3 separate regions of the Homo sapiens genome follow, and all the other regions are linked to region 3. Evidence: promoter capture Hi-C in human tissues and cell types (Jung and others, 2019). All regions are on one chromosome and are shown on one strand. The core of a region is centred on a gene start or on the middle of the fragment in contact, and the rest is flanking DNA. Distances in the headings are between cores, read along the strand shown.

Region 1 (4,790 bases), core at 1,290-3,789, 240 kb before region 3:
GATCGGAATAGTTTCAGAAGGAATGGTACCAGCTCCTCTTTATAGAACTCGGCTGTGAATCCGTCTGGTCCTGGACTTTTTTTTGGTTGGTAGGCTATTAATTATTGCCTCAATTTCAGAACCTGTTATTGGTCTATTCAGAGATTCAACTTCTTCCTGGTTTAGTTTTGGGAGGGTGTATGTGTCCAGGAATTTATCCATTTCTTCTAGATGTTCTAGTTTATTTCTGTAGAGGTGTTCATAGTATTCTCTGAAGGTAGTTTGTATTTCTTTGGGATCGGTGGTGATATCCCCTTTATCATTTTTTATTCCGTCTATTTGATTCTTCTCTCTTTTCTTCTTTATTAGTCTTGCTAGCAGTCTAACCATTTTGCTGATCTTTTCAAAAAACCAGTTCCTGGATTCATTGATTTTTTGAAGGGTTGTGTCTCCATCTCCTTCAGTTCTGCTCTGATCTTAGTTATTTCTTGTCTTCTGCTAGTTTTTGAATGTGTTTGCTCTTGCTTCTCTAGTTCTTTTAATTGTGATGCTAGGGTGTGGATTTTAGATCTGTCCTGCTTTCTCTTGTGGGCATTTCGTGCTATAAATTTCCCTCTACATATTGCTTGAAATGTGTCCCAAAGATTCTGGTACGTTGTGTCTTTGTTCTCATTGGTTTCAAAGAAAATCTTTATTTCTGCCTTCATTTCGTTATTTACCCAGTAATCATTCAGGAGCAAGTTGTTCAGTTTCCATGTAGTTGTGCGGTTTTGAGTGAGAGTCTGAATCCTGAATTCTAATTTGATTGCACTGTGGTCTGAGACAGTTTGTTGTGATTTCTGTTCTTTTACATTTGCCTAGGAGTGCTTTACTTCCAATTATGTGGTCAATTTTAGAATAAGTGCAATGTGGTGCTAAGAAGAATGTATATTCTGTTGATTTGGGGTGGAGAGTTCTGTAGATGTCTATTTGGTCTGCTTGGTCCAGAGCTGAGTTCAAGTTCTGCATACCCTTATTAATTTTCTGTCTCATTCATCTGTCTAATATTGACAGTGGGGTGTTAAAGTCTCCCATTATTATTGTGTGGGAGTCTAAGTCTCTTTGTAGGTCTCTAAGAACTTGCTTTATGAATCTGGGTGCTCCTGTATTGGGTGGATATGTATTTAGGATAGTTAGCTCTTCTTGTTGAATAGATCCCTTTACCATTATGTAATGGCCTTCTTTGTCTCTTCTGATCTTTGTTGGTTTAAAGTCTGTTTTATCAGAGACAAGGATTGCAACCCCTGCTTCTTCTGCTTTCCATTTGCTTGGTAGATCTTCCTCCATCCCTTTATTTTGAGCCTATGTGTGTCTTTGCATGTGAGATGGGTCTCCTGAACACAGCACACTGATGGGTCTTGACTCTTTATCCAATTTGCCAATCTGTGTCTTTCAATTGGGGTATTTAGCCCATTTACATTTAAGGTTAATATTCTTATGTGTGAATTTGATCCTGTCACTATGATGCTAGCTGGTTATTTCACCTGTTAATTGATGCAGTTACTTCACAGCATCGATGGTCTTTACAATTTGGCATGTTTTTACAGTGGCTGGTACCGGTTGTTCCTATCCATGTTTAGTGCTTCCTTCAGGAGCTCTTGTAAGGCAGGCCTGGTGGTGACAAAAATCTCTCAGCATTTGCTTGTCTGTAAAGGATTTTATTTCTCCTTCACTTATGAAGCTTAGTTTGGCTAGATATGAAATTCTGGGTTGAAAATAGTTTTAAGAATGTTGAATATTGGCCCCCACTCTCTTCTGGTTTGTAGGGTTTCTGCAGAGAGATCCACTGTTAGTCTGATGGGCTCCCTTTGTGGGTAACCCGACCTTTCTCTCTGGCTGCCCTTAACATTTTTTCCTTCATTTCAACCTTGGTGAATCTATGTGTCTTGGGGTTGCTCTTCTCGAGGAGTATCTTTGTGGCATTCTCTGTATTTCCTGAATTTGAATGTTGGCCTGCCTCCCTAGGTTGGGGAAGTTCTCCTGGATAATATCCTGCAGAGTGTTTTCCAACTTGGTTCCATTCTCCCCATCACTTTCAAGTACACCAAACAAATGTAGATTTGGTCTTTTCACATAGTCCCATATTTCTTGAAGGCTTTCTTCATTTCTTTTCACTCCTTTTTTCTCTAATCTTGTCTTCTTGCTTTATTTCATTAATCTGATCTTCAGTCACTGATATCCTTTCTTCTGCTTGATCGAATCAGCTACTGAAGCTTGTGTATACTTCATGAAGTTCTCATACTGTGGTTTTCAGCTCCATCAGGTCATTTAAGGTCTTCTCTACACTGGTTATTCTAGTTAGCCATTTGTCTAACCCTTTTTGAACGCTTTTCGATTCCTTGCGATGGGTTAAAACATGCTCCTTTAGCTTGGAGAAGTTTGTTATTACTGACCTTCTGAAGCCTACTTCTATCAACTCATCAAATTCATTATCCATCCAGTTTTGTTCCCTTGCTGGCAAGGAGTTGTATTCCTTTGGAGGAGAAGAGGTATTCTCTTCTCCTCCAAAGAATTTTCAGCCTTTCTGCTCTGGTTTCTCCCCATCTTTGTGGTTTTATCTACTTGGGTCTTTGATGTTGGTGACCTATGGGTGGGGTTTTGGTGTGGATGTCCTTTTTGTTGATGTTGATGCTATTCCTTTCTGTTTGTTAGTTTTCCTTCTAACAGAGAGGCCCCTCAGCTGCAGGTCTGTGGGGGTTTGCTGGAGGTCCATTCCAGACCCTGTTTGCCTGGGTATCACCAGTGGAGACTGCAGAACAGCAAAAATTGCTGCCTGATCCTTCCTCTGGAAGCTTCGCCCCAGAGGGGCACCTGCCTGTGTGAGGTGTGTGTTGGACAAGGAGCCCTTTTATTGTTTTCTTTTATTTTTATTTCTGACTCATGTGACTGGATGGGTTTTATTATTTTTTTTAAGGATTATTCTACTGTCATATGTTTCCACAATGAAAGAGGATCATTTCTAATGAGTACAGGTTTTGGCTGGGCACAGTGGCTCACGCCTGTAATCCGGGCACTTTGTAAGGCTGAGGTGAGAGGACTGCTTGAGCCCAGGAGTTCAAGACCATTGTGGGCAACACAGCAAGACCTCATCTCTATTTAAAACAAAGAAACGAACAAATATAAAGAATACAGGTTTTTCTCAGCAGGTGGCAGAGGATACACAATGGCTAAGAGGAAGGAATAAGAGACTTCCTGAAATACGAGCATGGACCATTTCAGACTTCCATAAAATGTGATCCTTTCCAAAGCCCATGAAAAAATGAATTGCTGTACACTTGAAGTCTCCAAACACCTGAAGGTTAAGTATCAAAACTTTAATTACGGTTTAAATTCACATCCTTACATCTGCCCCTGACACCTTCCCATCATCCTATCCTGCCCTTAACCTCCCCCAATACCATTTGTGCCTGCCCAATTCCCACCCGTCTTTGAAAGATCAGTTGTAATGCCAGCTGTTCTACAGATTTTTCCTAGATCACTCCATCCTGCCACAAGCTGCACCTCCGCCCTTACCTCTTTGTAGGTAAAAATAGATTCCTGTTATGAATTTCCCCAGCACCTTATCAATAACTTTATTATGACATACTATGGAATGATCAAGTTCTGGCCTACATTATGGTATTTCTCTATTTCCTTTAGTAAACTCCAAGTTCCTTGAGGCTGGAGCCCTCTTTATCACTGTATGCTGACAACCTAGCCCAGCAGTTTACAAAGTGAAGATGCTGCTTGATGATTACATGTACAATAAACTTGAAGCTGACAGTGGTCTTTAAATACTCAAGTCTTTAAATGTGAAGTGCTCTCACATATGATTTTTTCTGATGACCTTAGGTACAACAAAGCTGAACCAGATCAAAAACAAGGAAGAACGTTTAATAACTGTATCTGTACAACGCTGAAAGGATTAAGGCCCAGTGCTTCTCAAACTTTAATGCTCATACAATTCAACTGGGAACTGTTCAAAACAAGGTTTTTCTGATTCAGAAGGTTGGCAATGCAGCCTGAGTGCTTGTCTTTGTAATGAGCTCTTGGGTGATGTGGATTCTGTCGGTCTCCAGACCACTCTTTGAGTAACAAGGGGTTAATAGGTGCTTCTTCAATTATCTGTGCTATGTTTTTTGTATTTCCAATTAATCCCAGATGAATATTTTGTAAAATATAATGACTTAATTCATAGATAAATTCAACAGACATAAATTACTCTGTCAAACTGCTAAAAGAGTTTCTAAACTCTTGAGCTTCTATGATCATGGGCAGGTAACAATGTGCAGACCATCACCAGCCTGCACATGCCATCTTAGTAGCATCATGCTGGATGATCATCTACCTGTCTGCCAAGAATGAAGTGAAAGTTGGAAATCAGGGCCTCTCAAAGGGCCTCCCTTCCAGTCTTGGACTGTAAGCATCACTCAAATCTATCCGGAAGCAGTCTTGCTCCACAGCCTTCTGCCATTCACAGCCACTTCCCTCCCGCATTTCTGGGACAGTCACCGTTCCTTTCTAATTTAGTAACTACACAAACTTGTCTTATTCTCCCTTATTGTCTTCACTTTTCCCCCAACTTCCCAACTTAAATCTCTATATACCTTTAGTTTTATTCCATTCTGTTTTGCATTTCTTTCCTTCCATATACTTTCATTTTTCTAATACCTACCAAAACATTTTCGCCTTAGATTTCCCTTTTTTATCTAGAATTTTCTCATCTTGCACTTTGTTTTTATCTCTGCCACATATAACTGAGAAGTCAATGGACTGTACTGAATGAGTAATGA
Region 2 (4,594 bases), core at 885-3,384, 170 kb after region 3:
TACCACATTCCCCAAATTTTCGTGCTGTCAAACAAGGATTTTTAAATGATGGATTCTGTGGGGCAGAATTCTTTTTCTTTTTTGAGATGGAGTCTTGCTCTGTTGCCCAGGCTGGAGGGTACTGGTGCGATCGATCTCAGCTTACTGCAACCTCCTCCTGTTGGGTTCATGTGATTCTCCTGTCTCAGCCTCCCAAGTAGCTGGGATTACAGGTGCGCACCACCACACCCAGCTAATTTTTGTATTTTTAGTAGAGACGGGGTTTCACCATTTTGACCAGGCTGGTCTCGAACTCCTGACCTCAGGTGATCTGCCCACCTTGGTCTCCCAAAGTGCTGGGACTACAGATGTGAGCTGCTGTGCCCGGCCTGATTTCTTTTTGAAGTATAAGATGTATGCCAATTTTATTCCAGATACATGCCTATTGCAAAGCACGGTGCCTGACACATGATATTCACCCAGCAGAGATGTGTTACATGAACAAATAAGTGTTACAAGGTGCCCAGTTCACACAGGCCAGCTGAAAGCTGATTCTGGGGCTGGCCTGGAGCCCCAGTTGACCACATCTCCTAAAGGTCCCTGGGCTTCGTTCCCTTCTGCTCTCTCCTAGTATCTGCAGCCTTGATTTCATGCTTCACCCTGACCCAACCGTGCTAGGGCATTAAAGAGAGGTCCCTGCCCGTCAAGGCTGGGTGTTAGGTGGGAAGCAACGCCCCCTCGCGGCTAGCGTGCTGGTGGCTGTCACAGATCTCAAAAGGAAGACACCTCTGGGAACCAGAGTTTAGAGATCCAGCTGCCCTTTCCCTTGACATTCATTGAGATTCATTTCCACCCTCAGGGAGTCTGGGTTTTATTGGTATTTGTGAAGGTTTCTTTGTATTACGGTTGGCAACTAGGGAAAGATGTCATCACACAAATAAGCTTGCAAAGAGCTGAGTGGAAAATGTTGCAAATATTAAGAAAGTGACTTTTTGGTCACATTCCCCTGGCTGCCACCAGGTGAATTGACTTAGGGCAACTGTGACTTACTTTTGGCTTATAACTTCCATGAATAAAGCCCGTATAATTATGCTGTGACCCCACAGCTAATTATCTTTCTTTCACTCGCTCTGCTCTGGCCCTGTGGTCTCTGCTGATCTTCAAAGCCATGCAGAAGGCCCCACCATTAGGGCCTTTGCACTTTCTGTCCCCAACTGCTCTTGACCTAGGGGTTTTCACGGCTCACCTCCTTCTCTCCTTCAAGTCTTTACTGAAAGAACATCTTCTCCACAAGGCCTTCTCTGACCAACCTGTTTAAAATTGCAAGCTCCCTGCCATGGTAGGCTCCAGACCCCTCCAAAGAACTTAGCTCCTTTTAAAATAATGTGTTCATTGGCCGGGCCTGTTATCTCAGCACTTGGGGAGGCCAAGGCGGGTGGATCATTTGAGGTCAGGAGTTTGAGACCAGTGTGGCCAACCTGCAGAAACCCTGTCTCTACCAAAAATACAAAAATTAGCCGGGCATGGCAGTGCTTGTACTTGCAACTGCTTACGAGGCTGAGGCCTGGGCAACAGAGCAAGACTCTGTCTCAAAAAAACAAAAACAAAATGATTTTTTGCTAATTGTCTGACTGTTCCCACCAGACGTCATGCTCTAGGAGGGTAGGAATTTGTGTCTGCTTTCTTCACTGCTGCATCCCCAGATCCTGGGACAGTGCCTGGATCATAGTAGGACCTCAATGAATATTTGTTACATGAACGAATAAACAACTCTGTCAATTACCATCTTTCATTCTGGGCATATAACAGTTTTGATAATCAATACCAACAACCTGTAAGATATTTCTTATTGTCTCTGTTTTATAGAAGAAGAAACACAGGCTCAGAGAGGTCAATTAACTTGCCTAACGGCACACAGCTACTTCCTGGCTGAGTTTGAAATAGAGTTAAAATGAAGCTGACACTCAAATCAATGCACAGTGTGCTCTTTTTTTTTTTTTTTTCTTTTGATGGCATCTTGCTCTGTCACCCAGGCTGGAGTGCAGTGGCACAATCTCAGCTCACTGCAACCTCCACCTCCCGCGTTCAAGTGGTTCTCCTGCCTCAGCCTCCCTGGTAGCTGGGATTACAGGTGTGTGCCACCACGCCTGCCTAATTTTTGTGTTTTCAATAGATACGGGGTTTCACCATGTTGGCCAGGCTGGTCTCTAACTCCTGACTTCAGATGATCCACTCACTTTGGCCTCCCAAGCTGCTGGGATTACAGGCATGAGCCACCGCACCCAGCCCAATGCACTCTTGAGCTCTGCATTCTCTCCTATTGATGCAAACACCTCAAAGAGGCCCAGCGCTCCTCCATGGCTGGGCGAGGACAGGCAGGATCAAAGAGGAACAGTAATACAATTCCAGGGACGAGACATTTGGTATAGGCAGAAAGTGCAAAGGAATGTAGGCTGTTCAGCCGGAGGGTTCCTTTGTAAGTTTTGGGTGAAGCACTGATTGGTTGTTCTCCATGCCAGGCTACAGAGGCTGCAAACCAGAAGATGTGGGGGTGCATTTTGGGAAGTCTTGTCTGTAGCAGCCCAGTCTGTGGGAACTGGGAAGCACAATCTCCCTAAACTCCATGCTGATCAGATTTCCCAGAGAAACTGTTTCTGCCAACCACATCTCATATTTGTAATCATGATGATAAATAATTCTATGCGATATGATGATAAATATGGGAGTCACACAAGACATTTTAAACTAAGTGCCTGTTGTCTCCAATTCACAATTGCAGAAATGTGGAACCAGCCCAAATGCCCATCAATCAGTGAGTGGATAAAGAAACTGTGGTATATATATATATACGATGGAATACTACTCAGCCATAAAAAGGAATCAATTAATGGCATTCACAACCACCTGGATGGGATTGGAGATCATTATTCTAAGTGAAGTAACTCAGGAATGGAAAATCAAACATCGTAGGTTATCACTTATAAGTGGAAACTAAACTATGAGGATACAAAGACATAAGAATGATACAATGGACTTTGGAGACTCGGGGGGAAGGGTGGAAAGGTGATGAGGGATAAAAGACTACAAATTGAGTTCAGTGTGTATTGCTTGGGTGATGGGTGCATCAAAATCTCAGAAATTGGCCAGGCGTGGTAGCTCATGCCTGTAATCCCAGCACTTTGGGAGGCCAAGGCATGTGGATCACCTGAGGTCAGGAGTTTGAGACCAACCTCGCCAACATGGTGAAATCCCATTTCTACTAAAAATACAAAAATATTAGCCAGGCATGGTGGTGCATGCCTGTAATCCCAGCTACTCAGGAGGCTGAGGCTGGAGAATTGCTTGAACCTGGGAGGCAGAGGTTGCAGTGAGCCAAGATCGCTCCACCGCACTCCAGTCTGGGCAAGAAGAGCAAAAACTCCGTCTCAAAAAAAAAAAAAAATCTCAGAAATCACTACTAAAGAACTTCCTCATGTAACCAAATACCATCTGTTCCCCAATAACCTGTGGAAATAAAAAATAAAAAATTAAGTGTCTGCTATCTGACTGCCCAGAGTCAGTTCTCAGGAGGGATTCAAAAGAAGAGACCAAGAGATTCTGATATGATGCTGCCGGGTTCCCTCTAGTAGCTTGGAAATAAACTGAACTGAGAGATTTTAGTTCTCAGTGGGGTCTTCAGGGACCCTGGGCCTGAGCAAGGGAGAGCGATGTCATAGATGATCTGTGGTTCTTAAAGTATGGCCCTCGGACCTGCAGCCTTACCTGGAAACCTGTTAGAGATGCAGATTCTCTCCCCTCTCCTACTCAGTGCTGAATCAGGGGTCCCAGCAACCTGTGGTTTGACAAGCCCTCTGGGTAGTTCTGAAGGTTGAGAACCACTTGTATATATCGTTGCAAAAACAGGGCCTCAGTGGCCTTCTGCTCTCTTCAATATTTGTTGTCCCCTAATAGCTGTGCTGTAGGATCTGGAGTCCAATCTGGGTGTGAATGCAAGTTTGAATACACAAGTAGTTAATTTCCCTGAGCCTCAGTTTTCTTATTTGTAATATGGGGATAAATAATACCTGCGGTACAAGTTTATTATAGTTAAGTTAAAATTAAATGAGATAATGTATATGAAGTTCCTGGAACACAGTAGGTACTCAATACCTTCCTTTGCCTCCTGCCTCCCTCCTCTATTAGCCCAGACTTTTGTTCTTGTTATGAGCAACAGAAAGTCAATTCACAGTAACTTAAGAAAAAATTAAAACGTTATGGGTTCAGGGAATTCCGGGAAGACCTGTCCATCCTTGCTGCCTCGAATTTCTCTCGCCCCACTTATTCTTGAACCGCCCCTCACCAGGTTTTTATACCTCTACTCCACTGAAACTTCACTTCTCCAGGTTTACAGTGACCTCCTTGTGACTAAATCCAATGGTCCTTTCTCAGTCTCTATCTGGCATGTGCTGTCAGTAGCGTTTGGCACAGTTTATCACTTTCTTCTTTTTTTTTTTTGAGATGGAGTCTGGCTCTGTCACCCAGGCTGGAGTGCAATGGCGTGATCTTGGCTCACTGCAACCTCCGTCTCGCGGGTTCAAGCGATTCTCCTGCCTCAGCCTCCTGAGGAGCTGGGACT
Region 3 (4,576 bases), core at 1,118-3,617:
AACGCCTCCCCGATCCCACTCCTCGGAAGTGCCTTCACCTCTGAGCCTCATCTATGAAATGAGTGTAACACCTGCCAGAAAGAGGTTTGGAGAGGATTAAAAAGATGTGTGCATAGTGCCAGGCACATAGCAAAGGCTCAATAGATGGGAATGATTTGCTCAAAAGAAAGTGGGCATGACGGCCCTTGCAAGCCACTGCACAGATGTGGTGGCAACCCTAAGTTCATAGCAGGGCAGAAGCTCAGTGCAACAACGTATGGGCTCCCCAAACACACACACACTCCATGGTGTGCACCCTATGGTACTGTTTCCGGTGTTTGAACAAGAACAACTCCATTTTGAATATGGGCTGGGTAAAATGAGGCTGAGACTTGGTGGGCTGCATTCCCAGGAGGTTAGGCATTCTTTTTATTTGTATTTTTTTCTGAAGCAGAGTCTCGCTCTGTCACCCAGGCTGGAGTGCAGTGGCGTGATCTCGACTCACTGCAACCTCTGCCTCCCAGGCTCAAGTGATTCTCGTGCCTCAGCCTCCTGAGTAGCTGGGATTACAGGCACCTGCCACCATGCCTGGCTAAACTTTGGATTTGTAGTAGAGACGGGGGTTTCTCCATGTTGGCCAGGTTGGTCTCGAACTCCTGACCTCAAGTGATTCACCTGCCTCACTTAGTCACAGGATGAGCTAGGGTTGGCACAAGATACAGGTCACAAAGTCCCTGCTGATAAAATAGGATGCGGTAAAGGAGCTGGCCAAAACTCACCAAAACCAAGATGGCGACCTCTGGTAGGTCTCACTGCTCATTATACGCTAATTATAATGCATTAGCATGTTAAAAAAAAAACAACTCCCACCAGCGTCATGACAGTTCACAAATGCAATGGCAACGTCCAGAGAAGTTACCCTATAGTCCAAAAAGCGGAGGAACCGTTAGTTCTAGGAAATCCCTGCCCCTTTTCTGGAGAACTCTTGAATGATCCACCCCTTGTTTAGCATACAATCAAGAAATAACTATAAGTACACTTAGTCGAGAAGCCATACTGCTGCTCTGTCTACGAAGAAGCCATTCTTTTTTTTCTTTACTTCTCTATTAAACGTGCTTTCACTTTATAGACTCTCCCCAAATTCTTTCTTGCATGAGGTCCAAAAACCCTCTCTTGGGGTCTGGATTGGGAGCCCTTTCTGTAACAGTACTAAAGGTGTGTGTGTAGCTTAAGGTGTTTTTCAGAACAGTATTTCTTTGCTGACTCATGGCCACTCCATAAAATCTGTGTTAAAGGTGAGGTTTTTCCCAGAACCTAATTTTTTTCTGACTTCTTGGATTGGGATGATGACTTCGGCTTTTCTCGGAAGGCCTTGGTCACACCGCTGGCCGATGAAACAAGGAATTGTGCACACTGGGTCTCAGCTCTCTGCGTTTTGAATATTTCTGCATTAGTGACTGGCTTGGGTCCAGTCTCCACCAAGAAGCCACTTATGACCCTTGGACAAGTCTTTATTCCTTTTTAAGTAAGCTTCTGGATTCTGCCGGTCCTGTTTGGGGTCCCTGGGGCTCTTTGAGACAGGAACGTTACAGAGCAGTTGAAGGAGAATAGAAACTTCCAGGCTGCAGTTCTGTCTAACAAAAGGAAACTGTTGAAATAGCTGCACAAGCTATGGGCTAAGACCCTGAAAAACCAGGGTGTGGGTCAACCTGGCTAAAACCAACTGGACCCAACGTGGTGTGGCTTTGACCTAGGCTTCACCTAGGACTCATTAACATACTAAGTCACACACCCACCGGCACCACAACAATTCCGGGAACACCCATATTTGGTGTAAAAATGGGTGGCACCACAGTTCTGACAAGTCTCCACCTTATTCCAGAAACCTTTGTGTATATTCCATTTCTCAAAGAAACCCATAAAGATGGAAACCCCAAGCCCCATTGTGTGGCCCTCTTTTGAGTCCGCCCTTTCTTCAGTGTGTACTTTGCAGTAAACCTCTGTACTTTCACGACTTTCCGACTTGTTCTTGAATTCCTTCGTGAGGTGGTGAAACCACCTTTGAAAACTTATGACAGAGGCAGTAAAAGAGATACACATGTGGAAAGGAACCCAGTCTGGGGCTAGGCCCCGCCCCCCTCCTGCGGGCAGCCCAATCATACCCAGGCCCGCCGCGCTAGTCTCCGCCTCTCGGTGCTGCCTCTTCCGGGCCTCAGGTTCTTCCCCATGCCCACGCCCCTCTTTCGCGTCGCCGTATCCGAGGTCGCGCCAGGCCCTGGAGTCCCCAGTCTCCGCGTGCTGGCCAATCAGACCCTGCCTCGCCCCCTCGCCTGGGAGTCTCCGCCCTCCACGCTCTGCCCAGTCAGGCTCTGTCCCGCCCCCGCGGCACCGCCTCCGCGCCTCCATCCAGCCGGCTCCCTCCGGCCGCGAACTGCCCCTCCCCGCCCCGCCTCCCGGCGCGGGTGGCCGAGGCGTAGCGCTGCGACCCCCGCACCCCTGCGAACATGGCGCTGCGAGTGGTGCGGAGCGTGCGGGCCCTGCTCTGCACCCTGCGCGCGGTCCCGTCACCCGCCGCGCCCTGCCCGCCGAGGCCCTGGCAGCTGGGGGTGGGCGCCGTCCGTACGCTGCGCACTGGACCCGCTCTGCTCTCGGGTAAGCGCGGCGGGCACGTGGGCGGCTGCTCCCTCCCCGCCTGGGCTGCTTGTCCCGGGCCCAGCGGGACACGGAGGACGCCGGGGCACCGCTCCTGAGCCACCGGGGCGGAGCGAGCGCGGACCCTGCCCCCTTCTTATTTCTGTTGGGATCCCTGGCTCTGCGGCCGCTTCTCCCCCTTAAGTAGCGGGAGGACCCGCGAGTAGCCTTTGCCCTAGGGATTGCATGCAGCCGGGAGGGGAGGCCTGCGGGACACCGAGGCGGGGGTGGCCCGGCGGGTCCGGCGGGCAGGTCGGCCGCTTGCTGCAGAAGCCAGGCACGTGTCGCTTAAGCGTCTCGGTGGCCTTAAGTTTATCTCCCATCTGCGTGCATCGTTGAGACCCCAAATGGGGAGGCCTTTAGTTTACTAAATGGACCGTTACTGAGAACTCCGAAGTAAAATTAAAACAGAAGCGCTTATTAAAATTAAAGCACCAGGCAGGGCGCGTTGGCTCATGCCGGAGGGCGGATCACGAGGTCAGGAGATCGAGACTATCCTGGCTAACACGGTGAAATCCCATCTCTACTAAAAGTACAAAAAATTAGCCAGGCGTGGCGGCATGCGCATGTAATCCCAGCTACTCGGGAGGCTGAGGCAGGAGAATCGCTTGAACCTGGGAGGCAGAGGTTGCAGTGAGCCGAGATCGCGCCACTGCACTCCAGCCTGGGCGACAGAGCAAAACTCCACCTCAAAAAAAAAAAAAAAAAAAAAAATTAAAGCGCCAGATCTAGATTTTTTTACTAGATAAAACAATCATAACTTTGAAGATTCAGCTATTTCCCCAAAACAAGTAAGATAAAGTCTTCTGGACTCAACAGAAGTTCTGCTAAAGTTTGTATTGGATCATTCATGTGTGTGCTTGCTGAAATGAGCCCTAACTCAAACGGACTTGAAATAACTGGGAAACCTGCCCATGAATGTTTCGGCCATTTGTGCTACTTCAGCACAATTATTGCAGGGGAAAAACAATTTTCTTTTTTTTTTTTTTTCTTTTTATTGAGACGGAGCCTCGCTCTGTCGCCCAGGCTGGAGTGCAGCGGCGTGATCTCGGCTCACTGCAAGCGCCACCTCCCAGATTCAAGCGATTCTCTTGCCTCAGCCTCCCGAGTAGCTGGGTTCACTGGCGCCCGTCACCACCTCCAGCTGAGTTTTGTATTTTTAGTAGAGACAGGGTTTCGCCACGTTAGGCTGGTCTCAAACTCCTGACCTCAAGTGATCCACCCGCCTCAGCCTCCCAAAGTGCTGAGATTACAGTCGTGCGTCACCGCGCCAGGCCAACAATTTTCTTTACGCCCAAATGTTTGATACACTGACTGCTCCTCTGCTTCGATTGCGTAGATCAGTGATGGCTCTTGTCTCATTAGCTCATTGTTTTAGAAACCTGTTTGGAGCTGGAATGGTTGATAAATTTATTCCAAAATTTGTAGCATAAAGATTTACTTATGCTGTCTTGCTAATAGTCTGTCCGCTCTGTTTCTGATAGGGATCCCTACATCACTAATTTGAATACAAAGGTAAAGCATTTCTCAGATAAGAATTTAGTTTCAAGTCTGTGGTTTTCGTTCCTTTTTTTTTTCTTCTTTTTTGAGATGGAGTCTCGCTCTGTCGCCCAGGCTGGCATCCAGTGGCAGGATCTTGGCTCACTGCAACCTTCGCTTCCCGGGTTCAAACACTTCTCCTGCCTCAGCCTGTGGAGTAGCTGGACGACAAGAGCACACCTCCATCTCAAAAAAAAAAGAGAAGAAAAATTGACTAATACTAATATAAAATATTTTATCTGACTAGTGACATTGAAAAAGGAAAATGCAAAATTTTCATAAATTGCTCACAACTCCTAATTTTCCGAGGCCAAAAACCACCTTTTTCAAGGCCCAGTTAGAAAGTAATTATTGTCCAGGCACGGTG

What was found. The method cuts DNA at HindIII sites, captures the fragments that hold promoters and counts their contacts. A contact is called where the count stands out against the background at its distance.
Region 1: a contact is called between a fragment that was not itself captured here and the fragment with the promoter of GCSH in region 3, in 2 of the 25 tissues and cell types used here (dorsolateral prefrontal cortex and mesenchymal stem cells).
Region 2: a contact is called between a fragment that was not itself captured here and the fragment with the promoter of GCSH in region 3, in 1 of the 25 tissues and cell types used here (adrenal gland).

What each region holds. Positions count from the first base shown.
Region 1 is chr16:81,338,444-81,343,233 of GRCh38, reverse strand. The region is part of intron 1 of GAN (gigaxonin); the gene reads right to left. Among named protein-coding and RNA genes, the nearest start is that of GAN, 26 kb to the right of the region's middle. The HindIII fragment of the contact is 3,554 bases long and covers 763-4,316 here.
Region 2 is chr16:80,920,828-80,925,421 of GRCh38, reverse strand. No RefSeq gene overlaps it. Among named protein-coding and RNA genes, the nearest start is that of ARLNC1, 31 kb to the right of the region's middle. The HindIII fragment of the contact is 7,062 bases long and covers 1-4,594 here.
Region 3 is chr16:81,094,186-81,098,761 of GRCh38, reverse strand. It overlaps GCSH (glycine cleavage system protein H), which reads left to right and starts at 2,367. Exons shown (of 5, transcript NM_004483.5): 1 at 2,367-2,631. The coding sequence starts at 2,484. RefSeq lists silencers at 2,031-2,130, 2,281-2,950. The HindIII fragment of the contact is 10,346 bases long and covers 30-4,576 here.